2 separate regions of the Homo sapiens genome follow, and region 2 is linked to region 1. Evidence: promoter capture Hi-C in 16 types of primary human blood cells and fetal thymus (Javierre and others, 2016). All regions are on one chromosome and are shown on one strand. Each heading gives the region's core, a stretch centred on a gene start or on the middle of the fragment in contact. The rest is flanking DNA. Distances are from core to core; before and after follow the strand shown.

Region 1 (5,960 bases), core at 1,045-3,544:
TAATACTTTCCTAAGTCAGGGTCACCCTCGCCTTCCCCTCCATACACCATCATGTGGAGTGGAAAGGAGAAAAGGCTGTCTCGCTGACATGTCCGGAGCTCCCTACCTCAGGGTTTTTGCCTTTGCTGCTACCATCTTCCTGCTGCATTCTTCCCTCAGACGCCTGAGCAGCTAAACCCTCAGTTCCTTCAGGTCTGTGCCCAAATGTGGCTGTAGCAGAACAGCTTTCTTTGATTACCTGTAAGAACAGTAATTCCTCCCTCTCTCCCTCTCCCTAATCTTTTATCCTGCTTTATTTGTCCCCCATAGCATTTACCATAACCTAGTATATTTCATATTTTTTTCTACTGCCTCTGACTTTCCTCCAGAATGGAACATTAAAGGGAAAGACTTTGTCCTTTTTTTTTTATTATTATTGTCTCCCCAAAGCCTAGAATGGTGACTGGAAAATAGCAGTCTGGAGCTGAAAAAATATCTGTGGAATGTATGATTAATGAATGAACAAATGAAAAGCCTTATGTGTCTGTGTGTTGGTGTCTTTCTGTGTACGTTTGGGATTGCAGTCCTATTTCTCTGGCCAAAGTATGGCTCTATTCTTAAGCTGTGCTTGCCTGTGTTTTGGAATATATGAAGAATTCTCTGGGTCTGTGCATATGGGGCTTCTGCATATGAGCTTGGGTGTTTTCCTGCCTTTCTCTGTCTTCTAATTGTGTGTGGATGCGTCTGGACCACAGGCTGGTGTTAGTATCTGCGGAGGAAAGAGGAGCTGTGGCCGCTACACATCAACAGAGGGCACCAGAGAGCCACGCACCTACTTTCAGGGGCAGAAATTGAGAAAACTTGGCGGGGAGTGTTAGAGACCCAGGAGATCTGGGATCTGGGAGGAAAGAAGTGGAGACCTCTTTGGACCAACACATTACTGTAAAATTGTGCAATTCCAGCAACTTCTCTGTCCATTCCCTAGGGTCCAGACCTCTGGCTACCCGAGCAATCCTGTGAGCAGAAGTATCTGGTCAGGGGTGAGAAGAGGAGCTGGTTGCCAAACTGGGCCCTTAAGAAAGTGGAGATCCCTCCTGAATGCTCTCATGATTCTCAGGAATTCCCTTCCTTCCTAGTTCCTCCATGTCCCTACCCCAAAAGATCTCAAACTCCAGCGTGCTTAGAGATCTGACTGGTGGCTGTCTTCTCCTCTGGCTTGCATTCAGGGAGGTGAGGCCAGGTCTTGGCCCTTCAAAGCCATCCAGTTGGCTACCTTCTCCTTCGGGATGGGTGGAAGGCTAAGATGAACAAAGGAAGGGTCAACTGTGCCTCTTCCAGGCCGCTGAGTCCTCCAACGCCTAGCTGTGCTCAACCTTGACTGGGTGAAGCCAAGGCAGGGCCTCAAGGCAGGTCCAAGAGGCAGCTCCCATTCTCCAGTTCTGGGTTTTATAGGTGGGGAGAGGCATGTATGCCCCTCCCTTATCCAAGCATTCATTAGTCAATTGAGAATTCTTAATTTGGGGAATCTAGGGGCTAGACTTTGGGTGTGGAATTTAAAAAGAAAGGTCTTTATGTTTATTTAACTCCCTGCCCCCCACCCCACTCCTAGACACACACACGGAAACACACACACACACACACACACACACACACTCCCCATCACATCCTCTGAGCTAGAGGCTGATGTCCCTCAGCCCATGTTCCTCCTCCACTGCTTAGTTCCATAGCCCGCGACCAAGATTGCGTCTATAAATAGGAGGGGGTGGGGTGGCCAGGGGTCCCGTCGTGCCTGCCCCAGAACCCACGACGGTCACATTTTTCACCCCCTTTTGCCTTTGCCCTCAATTCCTTTCCCTCTTTGCTCTCCTTCCATCTCAGTTCCAGCGAGGGGGGTATGTGTGTGCGCGCGTTGTGGGGGGGCAGGGGGAGGGCTCGTGGAGGGAGGCGCCGTCGGAGGGAGAGTAGACGTCAGGCGGAGGGAGGGAGGCAGGCAGGCAGGGAGGCAGGGAGGGAGAGAGGGAAGGAAGAGAAGGGGAGAGAAAGGGGGAGCAAAGACCGAAAGAGACCCAGAGAGATACAGCTTGAGAGGAGAAATAATTAAAGGGGGAGGGCGACCAGGAGGAGAAAAAGGTCTGGGAGGAAAGAGAGATAAAGAGAATCGGAGGGCAGGGAAATGAGTTTGTGCGCGTGAGTGTGCGCGCGCGCGTGTGTGTGTGCAGGGGCGGGCGCGGGCGGGCGGGGGGCGGGCTCCCGGGCTCCCGGGCTCCCCTCCTCCCCAGCCCGCTCCTCTGGCTCGCTCGCCAACTCCGGGCCCCAGCCGCGGGCGGGCGCACGGCGGGCGGACAGCATGCTGAGCCTCCTCGTCTGGATCCTCACTCTCTCCGATACTTTCTCCCAAGGTAAGGGCCCCCAGCCCACCCCCGGACGCTCGGCTTCCCCCCGGGGCCGGGGCACTGCTTCCCCGGTGGGAGAGTGCTGGAGTGCCCCGCGGCCCGCGGCCAGTCCCCGGGTCCGGACGCCACGAGGCGGGGGCTCGGTCCGGGCGCAGAGCCCTGGGGGAGGGGGCGCGGAGTAACGAGGGGCTGGGGAGAATGAGTTTGCCGTTGATTTGCCCAAGTTGTTTCCTCTGGCTGCGCGGGAGAACCGAGCAATGGGGCCGCGAGGGCTGGAGGTCCGAGTAAAACGGGGAACCGAACGCTTTCTCTTGAGCTTCTGGCAGCCCTACCGACCCTCGCCCTCTGAGGCCGGGGTTCCGGACGCCTGAGTCCAGCCTAAGGGCAAGGCTGGGAAGAGGGTGGGATTTCGGATTTCGGGCGAGGGGGTGAGCGAAAAGCTGGGTCCCACCTCCCGAAGATGTTGCCAAGGGGATCCCCCTACTCCAGCCCAGCCCCTCGGGGGTCTGAGTCTGAATCACGGCTCCAGCCTGCCTGGGGCTGCCCCCTCTAGAGGAAGGGAGGGGTGTCTCGGCGCCTCTAGTGGGGATTTGGAACCCCTGCCCACGGAGGCTCTGGGTGGAGAGTGGAGTTCCACATACAGCTTCAGGCCCGCTTGATACAGAGGGGGGGAACTCACGGGGGCGGGGGCAGAGGCGGTGGGGGGAGGGGGCTGACACTCTACTTGGGCTCAGGAAAGTGTTGCTGTCTGGGGCTTATTTGACACTGGCAGGGGAGAGGCTGGGAGGTGAGGGAGGTGGTTGGGAGAGATGAGGATGTCAGTGTATCCTGGGCAGGGCTGGGGTTGGGGGAGGGAAGAGGGCTGAGGGAACCAAGGGTCCAGACTGCAGCAGGGACTGGGGTCTGTGGGAGTTGGTTCTTGCCTCCCAGGTCTGACTCTAAGGAAGACTGAATCCTGCTGAACTCCTTCCCTCCCCAAAAATGGAGCTGACACACAGAAATTGACACACAAACACCGTAAAACACTCACAGACACTGAGACAGACTACTCACCTACTGAGAGAGAGACATCCCCACAAACATCCCCCACACTGAGACAGACACATATACACAAAGACACGGAGACATCTGAGGAAGACAGATTCCTCCCCCAGATCGGCACACACTCACGCATTCATCCACCCGAACGTTACAACTATACACAGTACATGTATGCAGGCGTTTACAAGGACAGGACACACGCTCTCACAGAAACCAACCCTCTAGCAAACAAAGAAACTTGAACAGACATTCATATGGGCAGACACCTATGGAGATGTACAGACTGCAGATGGAGGAGGTGTCCTCTTTTAGGGGGTGTCTGGGAATGGATCTGGGTAGAACAGCCTCAGGCATTATTGCCCTGCTTTCTGTTCCCTTCCTGCGTTTGTAGGTGGTGTGTTATGCTGGACCTTTCCTCTCCTTGTCGGGTCTCTTCCCAGTTCCGAAGGCAAAGCCTGGCTGAGTTGGTGGGGGCACGTCTTGATTCATTTCTCCCCACAGGGCACCCATGCCAGCCCCCCAGCACACACTATGATATGGGAAGGGCACACATCTGTGGTGTGAGCCAGGAGTGGGAGGTGGTGCTAGGGGAAAGGAGGAGGCCTGGCCCTGGGGTTGGCAGGCCAGGCCAGCCACTTGGCAGAAAGTTGGGAAGATGACTTAAGTTCTGACTTTGTTCAGCCAGGCTGTTGGTGTCGGGGAGGAAGGGGGTGGGCCATGGTGGTGGTGGAGGGGGGTCATGTTGGTGGTGGAGGAGGCCCCTGGGTCAGTATTGGTCTATGTTGGGGGCAAGCTTATGTCTGTCCCTTTCTTACAGCCCTTACATGTCAGCATCATGGATACAAATGAGTGTTAAGGAACAAAAGCAGCAGTTAGCAAACAGGAGAGACATGTGGATTGAATTGGGGACAGAAAGAATTGTGTGTTGTGTGCCTTTCTCTCTTTGGAAAGGAGCGAGTGGCTAGGGAATGCTGAGCTCCCACTTCTCTGCTCCAACAGGGGTGAAAGCAGGACCTGGTGAAAGTGTCTGGGGTTGGGGGAGAGGATACCAGAGAAAAGAAAGGGAGAGACTAGACAGGAGGGGAGGGGAAATCACTAGTGAGTGTTGGGGGAAGCTTGGCAAGGGACTGGGGAGGAGGCAGAGAGGGAAGGAGTAGGGGTCTGGGGAGACTGGGACACACATGGGGGTGGAGAGCTTGGCAGGACCCCCTTTCCTTAGCCTCCATCCTCAGAAAGGAGCTCTAGGTCAGGGACTGGGGCAGTGAGAGAGGAAACGGAGGGGGGCGCTACAAAAGGGAGGAGGAATGATGGTGGGGGAATAGGGATGGGGGAGTAGGTGTCAGCAGGAAGCCATAGAATTGAGGGGAGCAGAGAGGAGAGGGGAAGGGGAGATTCAGCCTAGGCTGAGAAATAAAAATCGCATTTTAAAGAATTTCAATGGGCTTCATCAATCTTCATTTTTCACTAAATAATTTTCTGTATCTTATCTAAATGAAAACCATTATCCTTCCCCCCGTTTCCATCATGCGCCGGCTCCACAGACTGATTGCGCCGAAAATTGAAATATTTATTCATTTTCTGGGAGATTTTCTCGCTCCCTAGTCTCGGGGAGGAGAAATTGAAAAAGAAAGATTATAGCTAATCAGAGCAATGTGGGATGACAGGCCGGCTCGGGGAGGGAGCTGCCTCCGTGGGGGGGATGGATGTGGGGGCAGGAGAAAAATAAGCCCACCCAGCCCCCAGAGCTCCCCCTGGCATTCCTGCCACAGCTTTTGAGGGGAGTAAAGGGTAAAGGGAGGAGGCCCGAGGGCCTCCTAAATTCCCAGGATTCAACTCCCTGAGTACAGCTGAATCCTGGCAGAGAACAGCAGGTCTGGAGAGTAACTGGACTCTCCCCTTTCGGTGCTACACATAGACACATATACACACTTTAGATGTCCCACTTCTGCCCAGAGCAGGGCGCTGAGGTTGGGGAAGAGTCAGGGGAGACATGGCAGAAACCAGGACACTGGGTTCCTCTCTTTGACCTTGACTGAACTCCACTTTCTGCCTTCTACTCACTTAGACCCAAAGGGAGGGTGTGAACCAAGTACTCAGTGCCTCAGCCCTGGGCCCCAGAGCACCTGGTCAGGAGGAGGAGGAGGAGGCATCCAGGCCTTCTCGCCTCTGCTCCTTCCCACAGCTGAGTGGTTGGTTGTTCTGGCTCTGCCTTTGGCGCTCCAGTGAGATGGGAGGAGGAAGCCCCACCTCTGCCCCCCTAGGACCTCTTTACACCCTTACAAGGACTAAGTCTTAATTTCTTTTATCCTATAGTTTCTGGTGGTAAGTGCCCCTTAAATATCTGATCAATTGATTGATTTGATGAGCGCGCTGCAGTGCTGGAAAGAGGCAGCATTCGATGGCGATTAAATCACAGACTCGCATCCAGCTCCCACCTCCACCATTTGGTAGTCGTAAGCTTGAACAAGTCATGTACATTCCCTGTGCCTCAGCATGCTCTTCCAGAAGTGAGGATGGAAGTAATACCTCATAGGGTTGTGGTGGCAC
Region 2 (6,243 bases), core at 3,532-6,031, 530 kb after region 1:
TGGGGTTGGGGGGCAAGGGGAGGGAGGGAGAGCATTAGGACAAATAGCTAATGCATGCAGGGCTTAAAATTTAGATGACGGGTTGGTAGGTGCAGCAAACCACCATGGCACACATATACTTATGTAACAAACCTACACATTCTGCACTTGTATCCCGGAACTTAAAGTAAAATGTAAAAAAAAAAAAAAAAAAAAAAAAAAATACTAGAGTTCTTCAAGTTGTAACAAAAAGATGTTAAAGCCAGGTGCCGTGGCTCATGCCTGTAATCCCATCACTTAGGGAAGCCAAGGTGGGAGGATCATTTGACCTCAGGAGTGTAAGACCAGCCTGTGTAACATAGCGACATCACATCTCTAAAATAAAGAAATAGATAACATGAAACATTTTTAAGAAGTTAATAGTTAAAAAAGCCACTAGTAAAAGTAAATAGTCAAATCTGGAATAATCTAATACTGTAATGGCACTGTGTAAATCATTTTAAATTCTATTATAAAAGCTTAAAACACAGAAATATTGAAAATAACTATATCTATTCTAATTTGGCAATGAATACACAATCTAGAAAGATGTGAAGTGTGACATGAATAACATAAAATGTGGGCAGAGTGAAGTAAAAGTGTAGAGTTTTTGTATGCAATTTCAGTTGTTAGCAGCTTAAATTAGAATGTTATAATTATAAGATGTTTTATATAAGCCCCATGATAACCAAGTAGAAAAACAACTCTAGTTGATACATAAAAAACAAAGACATGAATCAAAGTGTGCACCTATCAAAATTCAACAAATTATAAAGAAAGATAGGAAGATTGGAAAAAAGAAATAAAAGAACTACAAAGCAGTCAGCAAAAATCAAAATGCCGGTAGTAAATCCTTTACCTATCAATAATTACTTTAAATGTAAATGAATTACATTTTCCAGTCAAAAGATACAGAGTGGCTGAATGGATTTTAAGAAAAATAAATAAATAAAAAATAAAAGCCGAGGTGCTTCAGCATCCTGGTACTGATGTGCTGTGGAGCCCTTGTGGTCCCTTAGCCAAGATGCCTGAGGAAACCGAGACCCAAGACAAATCGATGGAGGAGGAGGAGGTTGAGACATTCACCTTTCAGGCAGAAATTGCCCAGTTGATGTCACTGATCATCAATACTTTCTACTCGAAGAAAGAGATCTTTCTGAGAGAACTAATTTCAAATTCATCAGATGCATTGGACAAAATCTGATATGAAAGGTTGATGGATTCCAGTAAATTAGACTCTGGGAAAGGGCTGCATATTAACCTTGTACCAAACAAACAAAATCAAACCCTCACTATTGTGGACACTAGAATTGGAATGACCAAGACTGACTTGATCAATAACCTCGGTACTGTCACCAAGTCTGGGACCAAAGCATTCATGGAAGCTTTGCAGGCTGATGCAGATATCTCTATGATTGGCCATTTCGGGGTTGGTTTTTATTCTGCTTATTTGGTTGCCAAGAAAGTAACTGTGATCAGCAAACATAACAATGATGAGCAGTACACCTGGGAGTCCTCAGCAGGGGGATCATTCACAGTGAGGACAGACGAGTGAACCTATGGGTCGTGGAACAAAGGTTATCCTACACCTGAAGGAAGACCAAATGAGTACTTGGAGGAATGAAGAATAAAAACATTTTTGAAGAAACATTCTCAGTTTATTGGATATCCCATTACTCTTTTTGTGGAGAAGGAACATGATAAAGAAGTCAGAGATGATGAAGCTGAAGAAAAGGAAGATAAAGAAGAAGAAAATGAAAAAGAAGAGAAAGAGTCCGAAGACAAACCTGAAATTGAAGATGTTGGTTCTGATGAAGAAGAAGAAGAAAAGAAGGATGGTGACAAAAAGAATAAGAAGATTAAGGAAAAGTACATCGATCAAGAAAAACTCAACAAAACAAAGCCCATCTGGACCAGAAATCCTGATGATATTACTAATGAGGAGTAAGAATTCTACAAGAGCTTGACCAATGACTGGGAAGATCATTGGCAGTGAAGCATTTTTCAGTTGAAGGACACTTGGAATTCAGAGCCCTTCTATTTGTCCCACAACATGCTCCTTTTGACTTGTTTGGAAAGAGAGAGAAAAAGAACATCAAATTGTATGTACACAGAGTTTCCATCACGGATAACTGTGAGGAGCTAATCCCTGCGTATCTGAACTTCATTGGAAAGGTGGTGGACTCAGAGGATCTCCGTCTAAATATTTCCCATGAGATGTTGTGACAAAGCAAAATTTTGGAAGTTATCAGGAAAAATTTGGTCAAAAAATGCTTAGAACTCTTTACCAAACTGGCAGAAGATAAAGAGAACTACAAGAAATTCTATGAGCAGTTCTCTAAAAGCGTAAAGCTTGAAATATATGAAGACTCTCAACATTGGAAGAAGTTTTCAGAGCTGTTAAGATACTACACATCTGCTTCTGGTGATGAGATGGTTTCTCTCAAGGACTACTGCACCAGAATGAAGGAAAACTAGAAACATATCTATTACATCACAGGTGAGACCAAGGACCAGGTAGCTAAATTTGTGGAATGTCTTCGGAAACATGGCTTAGAAGTGAACTATATGATCAAGCCAATTGATGAGTACTGTGTCCAACACTGAAGGAATTTGAGGGGAAGACTTTAGTGTCAGTCACCAAAGAGGGCTTGGAACTTCCAGAGGATGAAGAAGAAAAAAAGAAACAGGAAGAGAAAAAAACAAAGTTTGAGAACATCTGCAAAATCATGAAAGACATATTGGAGAAAAAAGTTGAAAAGGTGGTTGTGCCAAACTGATTGGTGAAGTCTCCATGCTATATTGTCACGAGCATATATGGCTGGACAGCAAACATGGAAAGAATCATGAAAGCTCAAGTCCTAAGAGACAACTCAACAATGGGTTACATGGCAGCAAAGAAACACCTGGAGATAAACCCTGACCATTCCATTATTGAGACCTTAAGGCAAAAGGCAGAGGCAGATAAGTACAAGTCTGTGCAGGATCTGGTCGTCTTGCTTTACAAAACTGCTCTTTTGTCTTCCGGCTTTGGTCTGGAAGATCCCCAGACACATGCTAACAGGATCTACAGGATGATCAAACTTGGTGTGGGTATTGATGAAAATGACCCTACTGCTGATGATACTGCTGAAGAAATGTCACCCCTTGAAGGAGACAACGACACATCATGCATGGAAGAAACAGACTAAGCTCCAGCTGAGGGAAATATATTTTCAAGGATATTTTTCTTTATTTTTTGTTAACATTAAAAAGTCTGTATGGCATGACAACAACTACTTTAAGGGGAAGATAAGATTTCTTTCTACTTCTAAGTGATGCTGTGATACCTTAAGCACTAAAGCAGAGCTAGTAATTTTTTTCTTAGTTTCACATTGGCTTATTTTAACAGATCGAAGTAATGTGTGTTGCAGGATGTGTGAAACATGATGTTTACTTTGTGGTCTAAAGTGTTTAGCTATCAATCCATATTCCTTAGTAGGCCAAATCTTGTTATCCAAGTGTTCCTGAGCTATATCTTGATGTTTAGAAGAAAAGTATTTGTTACATTTTGTAGCATCTACTTTTGAACTTTTCATCCCCTGTAGTTGCCAGTTCTGTATGAACTAGTCCTCTAGAAATAGGTTAAACTGAAGCAACTTGATGGAAGGAAATCTCCACAGAGAGTTCTTGTTCTCCAAAGAAAAGTATTGTTTGGAGGAGCAAAGTTATAAGCCTACCTAAGCCTATCACAAAGCTTTTCAAAAAATAACTCAGAGCCAGTCTTGTGGATGGAAATGTAGTGCCCGAGTCACATTTTGCTTAAAGTTGTAACAAATACAGAAGAGTGAAAAAAAAAAAAAAAGCCAAGATCTAACAATATGCTGCCTACAAAAGACTCTTTTTAGCCTTAGGAACACATGTTAAAAGTGAAGGGATAGAGCAAGATATTTCATGCAAATGTAAACCAAAAAAAATCAGGGAAAGTTATACTTCCATCAGACAAAATAGACTTTCAATCAAAATCTGTCATAAGAGACAAAGAAAGTCACTGTACAATGATAAAGGGATGATGTCATCTTGAGGATATAAGAACTGTAAAGATAGATGCATTCAACATGGGAACACCTAAACATATATAAAGCAAGTAGTAACAGAACTGTAGGGAGAAATAAACAGCAATATAATAATGAGACTTCACTATCCTACTTTTAAAAATGGACAGATCATTCAGAGAGTGAATCAATGTGGAAACAGGAGACTTCAGTAACACCATTGGTCAAATGGACTAATAAACATATACAGAACATTTCGCCCAACAGAAGTTTAATACAAAATTTTCTCAAGTGCACATGGAACATTCTCCAGAATAGATCATGTTAGGTCACAAAACAAATCTTATCAAATTGAAGAGGACTAAAATCATCTCAAGTATCTTTTCTGGCTACAATGATATAAATATAGAAATCAATAACAGGAAGAAATTTAGAAAATTACAAATAGGTGGAAATTAAACAACACACTCATAAGATACCAACAGGTCAGAGAAAAAATCAAAGGGAAAATCAAATGTACATGGAAATAAACAAAAATTGAAACACTACAGCTTTGCCCAGATGTGTCTCCTCATCCCCATGGAACAGGAAGCTAGGGAACCTGGAATGCCCATCCAGGCCATCATCTGAAATAACAGAGAACACTTGAGAGTAAACAAAGATCAAATACATAGCCATCTGCTTATGTTACGGCTGGCTCTTACCCTTAAGCCCCATCTACTGCTCCACAGGTCAAATTGCACTGCCTAATATAAAAACTGCTAAAAGAAGTGAAAAGGGGTATAGAAACAAAGCCAAAAGACCCTACTCAACATACTCTACAGTTGCACCACTTAGAGAGAAGGGGAAAGGAAAAAAATATATAAGGAAAGAAAAAAAAATCCTATCCACACAAAAATAATTACAAAAATTAGAAGTGCCATCCTCTCCAGATGAAAGGGACCAGTATAAGGATTCTGGCACCATAAGAAATCTGAATCTTGTGACATCACCAAAGAATTACACTAGCTCTCCAGCAAGGACTCATAACCAAAATGGGAGCTCAGAAATGACAGGCAAAGAATTCAAAGCATGAATTGCAAGAAGGCTCAATGAAGTCCGAGGCAATGTTGAAAATCAACACAAGGAAACTACTAAAGCAGTCCAAGAAATGAAAGAAGACATAAACATGTTAAAAAGAAATTAATCAGAGATCCTGGAATTAAAAACTCACTTAAGAAATTTCAAGATACAATTGAAAGTTTTATCAATAGATTAAACCAGGCAGAAAAAAAAAAAAGAATTTCAGCCTTTTAAACTAGCTCAGGCAGACCACACACAGAGAAAGAGAGAGAGAATAAAAGAAAAGAAAATCAACAAAGTCCTTGAAAAATATGCGATTATGTAAAGTGACCAAACCTATGGGTTACTGGCATTCCTGAGAGAGAAGCAGTAGAAGTGAAAAACTTGAAAAACATATTTGAGGGAATAATTCAAGAAAAATTTTCCAATCCTGCCAGAGTAGTAGACACCTGAGAAAGACTTTACACAATATATATCACCAAGGAACCGAGTTACCAGACTAAGCAAGGTCAACACCAAAGAAAAAAATCTTAAAGGCAATTAAAGAAGATGGTCAGATAACTTACAAAGGGATTCCCATCAGACTAACAGCAGACTTCTCAGCAGAAACCTTAAAAACCAAAAGAGATTGGCGACCTATTTTCAGTATTCTTAAAGAAATGAAATTCCAACCAATGTTTCATATCCTGATGAACTAAGCTTTATAAGTGAAGAAGAAATAAAATTTTAGTGACAACCAATCACTAAAGGAATTTCTTACCAGTAGACCAGGCTTACAAGAGATCCTTAATGGAGTTACAAACATGGAAACAAAAGAATGATACTGGCTACCATAAAAACACACGTAAGTAGCCCACAGACCTAATAAAGTAATTGTACACAATTAAGACTATAAAGCAGCCAACTGGAAACTTCATGACCATCAGGATCAAAACCTTGAATTTAAATGGTCTAAATATCCCACTTAAAAGGTACAGAGGGACAAGTTAGAGAAAACACAAAACCGATCTATCTGCTGTCTTCAAGAGACCCATCACTCATGTCATGGCACCCACAGTCTCATAGTAAAGGGTTGGGGAAAGACTTATCACACAGAGAGAAAATAAACAAACAAGAAAGAACAAGGGTC

What was found. The method cuts DNA at HindIII sites, captures the fragments that hold promoters and counts their contacts. A CHiCAGO score of 5 or more calls a contact.
Region 2: a fragment that was not itself captured here is called in contact with the fragment with the promoter of KIRREL1 in region 1 in 1 of 17 cell types (total B cells); the score reaches 5.1 in total B cells.

The regions. Positions count from the first base shown.
Region 1 is chr1:157,991,351-157,997,310 of GRCh38, forward strand. KIRREL1 (kirre like nephrin family adhesion molecule 1) reads left to right here and starts at 2,295. Exons shown (of 15, transcript NM_018240.7): 1 at 2,295-2,378. The coding sequence starts at 2,327. The HindIII fragment of the contact is 5,747 bases long and covers 1-4,204 here.
Region 2 is chr1:158,522,630-158,528,872 of GRCh38, forward strand. It overlaps the pseudogene HSP90AA3P. Among named protein-coding and RNA genes, the nearest start is that of OR6Y1, 29 kb to the right of the region's middle. The HindIII fragment of the contact is 2,059 bases long and covers 3,753-5,811 here.